Linked DNA regions of Homo sapiens: region 2 is linked to region 1. Evidence: promoter capture Hi-C in 16 types of primary human blood cells and fetal thymus (Javierre and others, 2016). All regions are on one chromosome and are shown on one strand. The core of a region is centred on a gene start or on the middle of the fragment in contact, and the rest is flanking DNA. Distances in the headings are between cores, read along the strand shown.

Region 1 (4,191 bases), core at 1,178-3,677:
CTTGGACTGAGCTCCTGAACTAGGCCCCAACAGACCAGACTAAAATGAAGCCACTGTGTTAGGTGCCACGTAACTAAACAGAGATTTTAAAAAACAGGAAAATCCCCAAAAGGGCCAGTTTTCCAAAAACCAGGAGATTCACAGCAACCAGTCAAACGGGGCCCAGTCAGCCTGAGCCAGCTAAGGCAGCCCCCTCTGCTTTAACCCATAAAGGAGAGTAACCTGAAGTTACCCGATGTGCTTTCGGCACTATGCTTTTCCCTTGTTCCTGCTTAAGTTACCTTAACAAAACCCAGCTGTTCTTCCATTCCCACAAGAGCTCCCGTCTATTTTGTAGTCAGAATGCTGCCTGGTTCATGCATTGCTAATAGAAGCCAATTAGATCTTTAAAACCATTTGTTGAAATTTTGTTCTTTAGACTACACACACACACACACACACACACACACACACACACTCTACTGTAATCATATAGCTCTTAAAAAAAGAAAAGAAAAAAGAATATAAAACCCTACAACCTTAGGTGCTTTTGTTGTTGTTTTTAATTTAAAAAGACAAAATTGTTCGCCTTGTATAGAAGTAGATACAGCTTAGAGAGCCAAGGTAACAAGAGGGGAAAAGTTTGTGTTGTCTGGTACTTTTGAGGGAGTCAGAAGCCTAAAGGGAGGCTCTAACTCATGATTCTCAGAAGACAACTGTTGTCAACAGTTCAAATGAGAACTGAACGGCCACACTCCTGCAGCTGAAAGGAGTCAATGCGAGCTGAGTTGCTCTCACCGAACAGAGTGCGTTCCCCGGGGAGGCAGGGAAAGGCCGGCTTGCACCTGCTCTGTCACCCAGCTCCACTCTTAGGACAGAAGAGGTCTGGAAAATGTCTGGGCCATTCCCTCATTTCACGGAGGAGGAAATGGGTTAGTGTGTAATTGTTTTTATCATCACCCTTGTTTTATCTTTCAATCTGCCAGGCTCACTCAATGCTACATCCTGCAGTCCCCACCCACTGGAGAAACAATCCGATCCTGCAAGTAATTATTGAGTGCGGACGGCATACCTCACCTCCAGACCTGCCCATTAAACCCAGAACGGAGGTGTTTTGCTCTCTGCGCTAGATCGGTATTTTCCCCTACCACTTTAAGATTACGCTTCAGGCCAGTGTTAGGCTTTCTGGTGGGGTGGGACGCAACAGGCGGCCTCCTCCACCGCAGCGATGGCGGCTATGAAACCTCTGGGTATTTGGGCGGGAGGCGCGGCAGGTATTCTCCCAAAACTGGGTTTTCAAGACCACCACTCTCTGCGGAGGCCGACCCGGCAGGTAAGGAACTGTCCATCGGAAGGCAACGGGCGTGGCGTGAGCAGCCCGACCAATCAGCAGAGCCGCCGTTCAGTCAGGCTCCCCGCCCGGGGTACCCGCCCAGTCCCCAACCACTGAGCATGCGCCGCGGGCCTGGCGCAAATCCCCGCCTGGCGCGCCCTCTCCGCGGCCCTGTGAGGGTTAGGCTGCGCCGGGCTTCCTCAGAGAGACAGAAACGGAGCCGGGGCGGGAGCGGGCCCTTAGGGACAGGAAAGCGGTTAGGGTATTGGGGGGAAAGTCCCTCACAGGGTGGCTGTCGCTAGCGGCCGCCAGCTCTGCGTCACGGTGGGCTCGCAAGCCGGCGCATCGCAGTTTCCCTGGTACCCCGCCTGGCGGTCCGGCGCGGAGGGGCGGCAGACCGGCTAAATCGGCCCCAGTGAGGGCCGCCGTGTCACCTGAGCCCCTTCCAGGCCGTTGTCCTCAGGTTACAGGCGACATAACCGAGGCTCCGAAGTATTGCCCACGTCCAAGGTGACGCAGCTGGCCGTCCCGGCGGGCCGGAGTCTGGGAGTCTCCCACGCCTGGCCCGGCCCAACCGTCATCGTCCCGCCGCGAGCTCCGTGCCTCCGGGGACTGAACGGTGGGGAGGCCGAGGCGCCACACGAGCGCGCGGCGCCCCGCGCCAGGTTCCGAGCAGGGACGCTCCGTCCAGGTCCGCCTGGCCGGCCGCGGGTTCCGATCGGTGCCACATAAATAAAGGCTACTTTCCTGAGACCTCTGTCCCCGCAGAGGCCCCGGGCGCAGAGGGGGGGCGTGGTGCACCGAGCTCCGACCCTGCCGGTGACTTCGGGGTCCCCTCGAGCGCAGCCGGGCTCCCTGGGCAGGAAACCCTGCTCCGAAACCGCGCATCGTCCAGCCTCGGCTGTGCGCCCTCTTGGTGGCGTGCGCAGTCCCCTCCTCCGGTCTTCGGACGTGCGGCCCGGGGCGGAGGCGGCCCCGACCCCCCACCTTCCCCAGTGAGGGTCCCGCGCGGCACGCCGCCCCTGCCAGTCCGGCCGCCTAGCTCCAGCGCCGGGCCGCGCCGACCTGCCTGGCCCGCCGTCCCGCCGCGGCGGCCCCTCCTCCGCCGTCCGGGCGCCCCGCCCCGCCCGCGCCGCGCCGGACACCCCGCCCCGAGGAGGCGGCCCGGCGAGTGGTCGCCGAGGGAGGCTGGTGGCATGGGGGAGCCGCCGCCGCCACACGCACGGTCGCCCGGAGCGAGCCCGGGCGCTGCTGCGATCGCGGGGGGCCGCGGACGCCGAGGGGGGCGCCTTGGGGCGTGACACGGTGCAGAGGGCGCGGCCTGGGCTGCGGCGGCCGGACTCGCGGCGAGCAGCGGGGGGAGCAGGCGGCGGCGGCGCCGGGAGCGGCGGGCGGAGCGGGCCGGGCGCCGAGGGCGCACCTGGCGGCCGCGCGGCCGGGCCGGGCCGCGGGAGCAGGCGGAGGCGGAGGCGGCGGGGGCAGGAGGATGTCGCAGCCGCCGCTGCTCCCCGCCTCGGCGGAGACTCGGAAGTTCACCCGGGCGCTGAGTAAGCCGGGCACGGCGGCCGAGCTGCGGCAGAGCGTGTCTGAGGTGGTGCGCGGCTCCGTGCTCCTGGTGAGTGCGGGACGACCGCGGGCCGGGGGAGGATGGCGGGGGCGCAGGCAGCTGCGGGCCCCGGGCCGGGCGCCTCTTAGTCGGCAGGGCTGAGGCAGAGCGGCCGACCCTGCTGGGTCCGCGGAATCAAGAGGTGGGGCCGGCGGGAGGGAGTTGGACAGGGGAGAAGAGAAGGTCCTGGAGGGGCTGCAACTCCCAGACCCCTCCCCGCCACCCAAGATCCTGTCCCCATCGCTGTCCCCTTCCTCCTGGGAAATTTCCGCAGAGTGATGTCGCCCTGTCACTCTTTTCACCCCGCTCTCTCCCAATTTACCTGCTTTCTGTCAACTGGGAAATTACACTCTCCCCCCTCCCCCGCATCCCTCCCCCGTATCCCTCCCCCGGCCTCCCTCTCCTTCCATGTTTTGGAGGGGCGCAGGGGAATTGAGGTGGGGGCTTCCTCATCCAGTCTGCGCTCAGGGTGGGAGATGCCCCTGCTAACCCTTTGAGTTGGCTGAACTCCAGGAGGGAAGGACTTCGGCATCCTCTCCTGCGCCCCCCACCTCCAAGCCGGTATCCTGAAGTTTGGCCGCCTTTTAGGAAGGCTTGGGGGGCATGATGGGAACCCTCGCTAATTTAGTATTGGTGCAAATTCCTGTGACGTTTGGGGGTTCTAAGTAAGCAAAGCCATCAGCCCAAAACGAATCTTCCCGTGGCAGAACGTCTTTAGAGAATAGGCCTCTGGGTGTGAGGAAGATGAAGTTTTCGATTAACTTTTTCACAGCCAGCGCCGGTCCTGCTGTATTTGGAAACGCACTACAACCCGATTCACCTGGATGGTGCGGGAGTGGAGCGACGTTTGAGCAGGAGCGAGCTCTGCAGGGCAGCTGGAAACTTTTAGCAGCTCCTTGCGTTGCCGCCGGCATTTGTTTTCTTGAAACGGGCTTGTTTGTGGGTGGGTGTGACTTGTGTTTGTTGGAACAGTGCAAGAAGATGGGCCTTGGAAGTGGTTGTCTGGGCCCTGTGGGGGATTGTCGGGGCAGAGTGCCGGGCCCCTTAACACAGGGGCGGATGCATCATTTTGGTGGCAGATCGATGCCCTTCCTGGGCAGACACAGAATTGCGTGAATGACGTTTGTGGAGATTGGAGATGAAGCTTCGCTGATTTCTATATCCAGTTTGCTCAGTTTGAATTTTCTCTCGATTGCTAGCTCTGCCAACTCCAAATTTCTCCAACTCCAGTTTGATCCATAGTAAACAAGGATTTAATTTTTCTATTTTAGGG
Region 2 (4,191 bases), core at 1,032-3,531, 370 kb before region 1:
ACTCAGACCACACATCGGCTATGTCTTGCTGACAGTGCTGCTCCTGTGTCCTCTTCATTCCTGGACTCAGTCTGAAAGGGCAGCCATCAGACTTGTCATTTTGTTGTGGCGAAGGAAAAGAGAAATGACTGAGCCATGCTGTTTCTGAGAGCTGCTGTTTGGATGTGCAGTTTATCACTTCTACTCACTACCATTGGCCAAAGCAAGTCAGTTGGCCAAGCCCGCTATTAGTGGCAGCAGAGAGGTCTACGCCTTCTATAGACAGGTCATGGCAATGACAGGGAAACTGGTAAGGAAATCTTACTGGTAAAGGCAGTGAACAATTGGAAACAATACATTAATACAATTTATCAGTCGCCAAAGGTTTACTCTTGCCTTTCCATTCTGCTTAGAAAAGTTTCAGAGAAGTAAGGCTTGAATTGGCCTTTCAAGGATGATTCCAGGCAGGGGTGAAATAGATGCTAATGCAGGAATATTTGGAAAATAAGAAAAAATCCCAAAAGGCCAGGTCACATGGAGTGGAGAGAAATGGTGACAATAAAGTTGAAGATCTGGTGGGGCCAAATAGTAAAATTGGGACAAATGAGACATTCTGGTTTTCTGCTTTTCAAACATTTCCACCAAAGCCTTCCTGATGGCCAAGGGGAATTAGTACACTTCCTGAGGTTTAGAAAATCATCTTTGAAGGTTTGAGTGACATCTTAAAAAGTAACAAAAAGTTTGCATTCTGCTTCAGAAATATTCAATTTGGTTTTATTATGAAAACAATGTTTTACTCACCTGAAAATCTTCAAAGAAAATTGACACCTTGGGAAGTAGCCCCATGTTCAGCCAGGTCTGTGCTCTGATTTGATATGCTTTCTGGCACCAGACTGAGTGCCCCACTGGAGAAGTCTGCTTCTTTCCCCTTTTCTCCAGATGTAAACATCTTCCAAATAAAAGGAGAAGAAAAATATGTAACCTCTCTTTGTGACATACAAGTTCTGGTATAGATTAATTTACCTTCTTAGCTATATTGTTTCGATCCCTTTTTCTTGGGCTATTTATTGTTACTCCATCTGTTTGCCCATTACAAATGGGGAATTAAACTCTGTCGTTGTGATTATACTTCCACCAGCCCATTTCTCCCTTCATTCACACATGTTGTTACTGCTGTCTGGAATATATTTGCATGGTGCCTTCCACTTTGTCCCTTGTCTTCCAAATCAATCCCTATTTACCTTTTTAAACCACCTCAGGCTGAGAGCAGTGGCTCACACCTGTAATCCTAGCATTTTGGGAGGCCAAGGCGGGCAGATCACCTGAGGTCAGGAGTTCGAGACCAGCCTGGCCAACGTGGCAAAACCCCGTCTCTACTAAAAAATACAAAAATTAGCTGGGCATGGTGGCACACGCCTGTAATGCCAGCTACTTGGGAGGCTGAGGCAGGAGAATCACTTGAACCTGGGAGGTGGAGGTTGCAGTGAGCTGAGATCGTGCCACTGCACTCCAGTCTAGGCAACAGAGTGAGACTCTGTCTCAAAAACAAAACAAACCCACCTCACCACCTCTGTGAAGGCTTCCCCCATCCTGGCATGCTAGTCACTCCCATCCTGGGGAACGGCCACTGTGCTACTGTGTGAACAGAAATATGGCAGCATCTACAGAAACTAAAAATGCAAATACCCTTTGATCCACCAATTCTACTTCTAGGAATCTTTCCTACAAAATATTTGTTCCTGTGCGCGAACGTGTATGTACAAAGAATGCCCAGCGAACTGGAAAACGAAGGGACTGTCCATCAATGTGAGGATTGTGAAATAAGCTACGGCACCAGAATACTATGCAGCCATGAAAAAAAAAATGAAGTACGTATATGTACAGATCACCCAGATTTTGTTAAGCCGAAAGGTGAATCACAACATATTATATAATGAAAACATACAATGCCATGAAAGCTTCATATGAGTGCAAAGTGTTAGCAGAATGCATATTAAATTGTTACGGTTGTCACAACTATAGCACAAAGGAAGTTGAGGTTGGTGGTAACAGTGCTGTAGGACTTCACTTTTTACTGCAGGCAATTTAGGGTTGCTGAAATCTTTTATGACTGGAGTATATTTGGATATTGTTTGCCATAATTAAACCAACTAAAATGCCTAAAACTAAAGTAAAATAATACCAATTGTTTATTTTATTTTATTTTATTTCATCTTTTTAAGACAGGGTTTTGCTTTGTTACCCATATTGGAGTGCAGTGGCACCACCATGGCCTACTGCAGCCTCAACCTCCCAGGCTCAGGTGATCCTCCCACCTCAGCCTCCCAAGTAGCTGTGACTATAAGCATGCACCACTATGCCTGGCTAACTTTTTTTTTTCAATTTTTGTAGAGACAAGGTCTCACTATTTTGCCCAGGCCGGTCTCTAACTCCGGAGATCAAGCAATTCTCCCACCTTGTCCTCCCAAAGTGCTGGAATTACAAGTGTGAGCCAACAGTCCTAGCCTCCAATTTATTTTAGCATATTTATAAAATTCAGAAAAAATGAAGAAAATAATAAAAATCACCAGTAGAATTGTCACTTTCTGAAAACAAAATCATTTAAAAGTTGGTCATGTGCAATATTCTTTTCTTTTGATAAGCTTCACTCTGAAATTAAGACACCCAGAAGACAGTATTTTATGAAACTTACCTCTAAATAGCTTTCATTGGTTGACTTAATTTTTTTAGCAGCTAATAAAGTACAATCTCAAAACACTGATGGTAATCACAACTGACTATAAAACTGTTGAGGGAAAATTATGACAGAAACCTGGGCTACTAAAAGTTCTAATGCAAGATAAATTTCTGGACTTGTGTTTAAAAGAGAGTTTGACTAAAACTAATGAGTTTATATGACCTAATTCAACCAATCACATCTGGCATTACTGCAGTTTATTACCCGCTTTCATCAAATCAATAATCTTGGTTATATAAAGCATGCTTCAGTCGTTTCCATTTTCTTTTATCATCAGGAGTACTGGGTAAGAGCTGGAGTAACTAATGGAAATTCCTCTCATTCTTCATCAAGCTGAGTTAGAGGTTTCCTGAAGCTGAGTTGCTATAACCCTATAAATTGTTAAAAGCCTCACCCCCAGAAGGCTACGCACTGCAACGTTCTTCCCCAATGTACTTGGCCTTATGCATGCCCTGCGCTGCATTCTTCTTTATTAGCACTGTTATATTATTTATTTTAAAAGTCACATTCATTTTATAAAGCGTCTTGGGACTAGGATGCTTTTCCAATCCACTTTTGTTTGGATGACGATCCCATTACTGTATTTATGCCCCAATAACACCAAGAAATCATCCCTGAGGGCACCATGTAACACGTATAATGTTATCAGATTTAGAGGTGCTGGGCACTCCTGTGATCTGTAAGGAACACCCACTACTGTCCTTGTGGAGAAAATGAGGCCCAAGGCAGTTAGGTCACTTGTCCAGCTTATAGCCATCAATGTCTGATGGATTTCCAACAGCAAAAGTTGTTTTGCAGCCAGCCAGGCACTTGGTAGTGCGTGCCTATAATCCCAGCTAATGGGAGGAGTTCAATTCCAGCCTGAGCAACATAATGAGACCGCATCTCTCTCTCTCTCTCTTTTTTTTTTTTTTTTTGAGACGGAGTCTCTCTCTGTCCCCCACGCTGGAGTGCAGTGGCGCGCTGTCGGCTCACTGCAAGCTCCGCTTCCCGGGTTCACGACATTCTCCTGCCTCAGTCTCCGGAGTAGCTGGGACTACAGGCACCTGCCACCACGCCCGGCTAACTTTTTTGTATTTTTAGTAGAGACGGGGTTTCACCATGTTAGCCAGGATGGTCTCGATCTCCTGACCTCGTGATCCACCCGCCTCGACCTCCCAAAGTGCTGGGATTACAAGGGTAAGCCACCGCGCCCGGCCAACCCCATCTCTTACAAAAAAAAAAAAAAAAAATGTTGTTTTGCCCCAGCAGCAGAATGGATTCTGATTTAGGGGCAATAAGATGTCTGTTAATGGAGATAGATGAAGAGGCAGGCTGTTTCTGAATCCCTGTGCCTGTTTTAAGTCTTTCTGTGCCATTGGTTAAAAGCCTTATTGAAAAATAATTTACATGCCATAAAATTCACTCATTTTAAGTGTACAATTCAATGATCTTTACTACATTTACAGAGCTGCACAGCCATCACCACAATCCTA

Evidence for each region. Contacts are between HindIII fragments. The CHiCAGO score rates a contact against its expected background, and 5 or more counts as called.
Region 2: a fragment that was not itself captured here is called in contact with the fragment with the promoter of DOCK9-DT in region 1 in 1 of 17 cell types (total B cells); the score reaches 5.0 in total B cells.

What each region holds. Positions count from the first base shown.
Region 1 is chr13:99,084,959-99,089,149 of GRCh38, reverse strand. It overlaps DOCK9-DT (DOCK9 divergent transcript), which reads right to left and starts at 2,427. Exons shown (of 1, transcript NR_047482.1): 1 at 525-2,427. It also overlaps a transcript of DOCK9 not described here. RefSeq lists enhancers at 742-1,301, 1,864-2,425 and silencers at 1,306-1,535, 2,116-2,175, 2,266-2,575, 2,616-3,095. The HindIII fragment of the contact is 5,433 bases long and covers 1-4,064 here.
Region 2 is chr13:99,455,272-99,459,462 of GRCh38, reverse strand. No RefSeq gene overlaps it. Among named protein-coding and RNA genes, the nearest start is that of LNCARGI, 25 kb to the right of the region's middle. The HindIII fragment of the contact is 684 bases long and covers 1,940-2,623 here.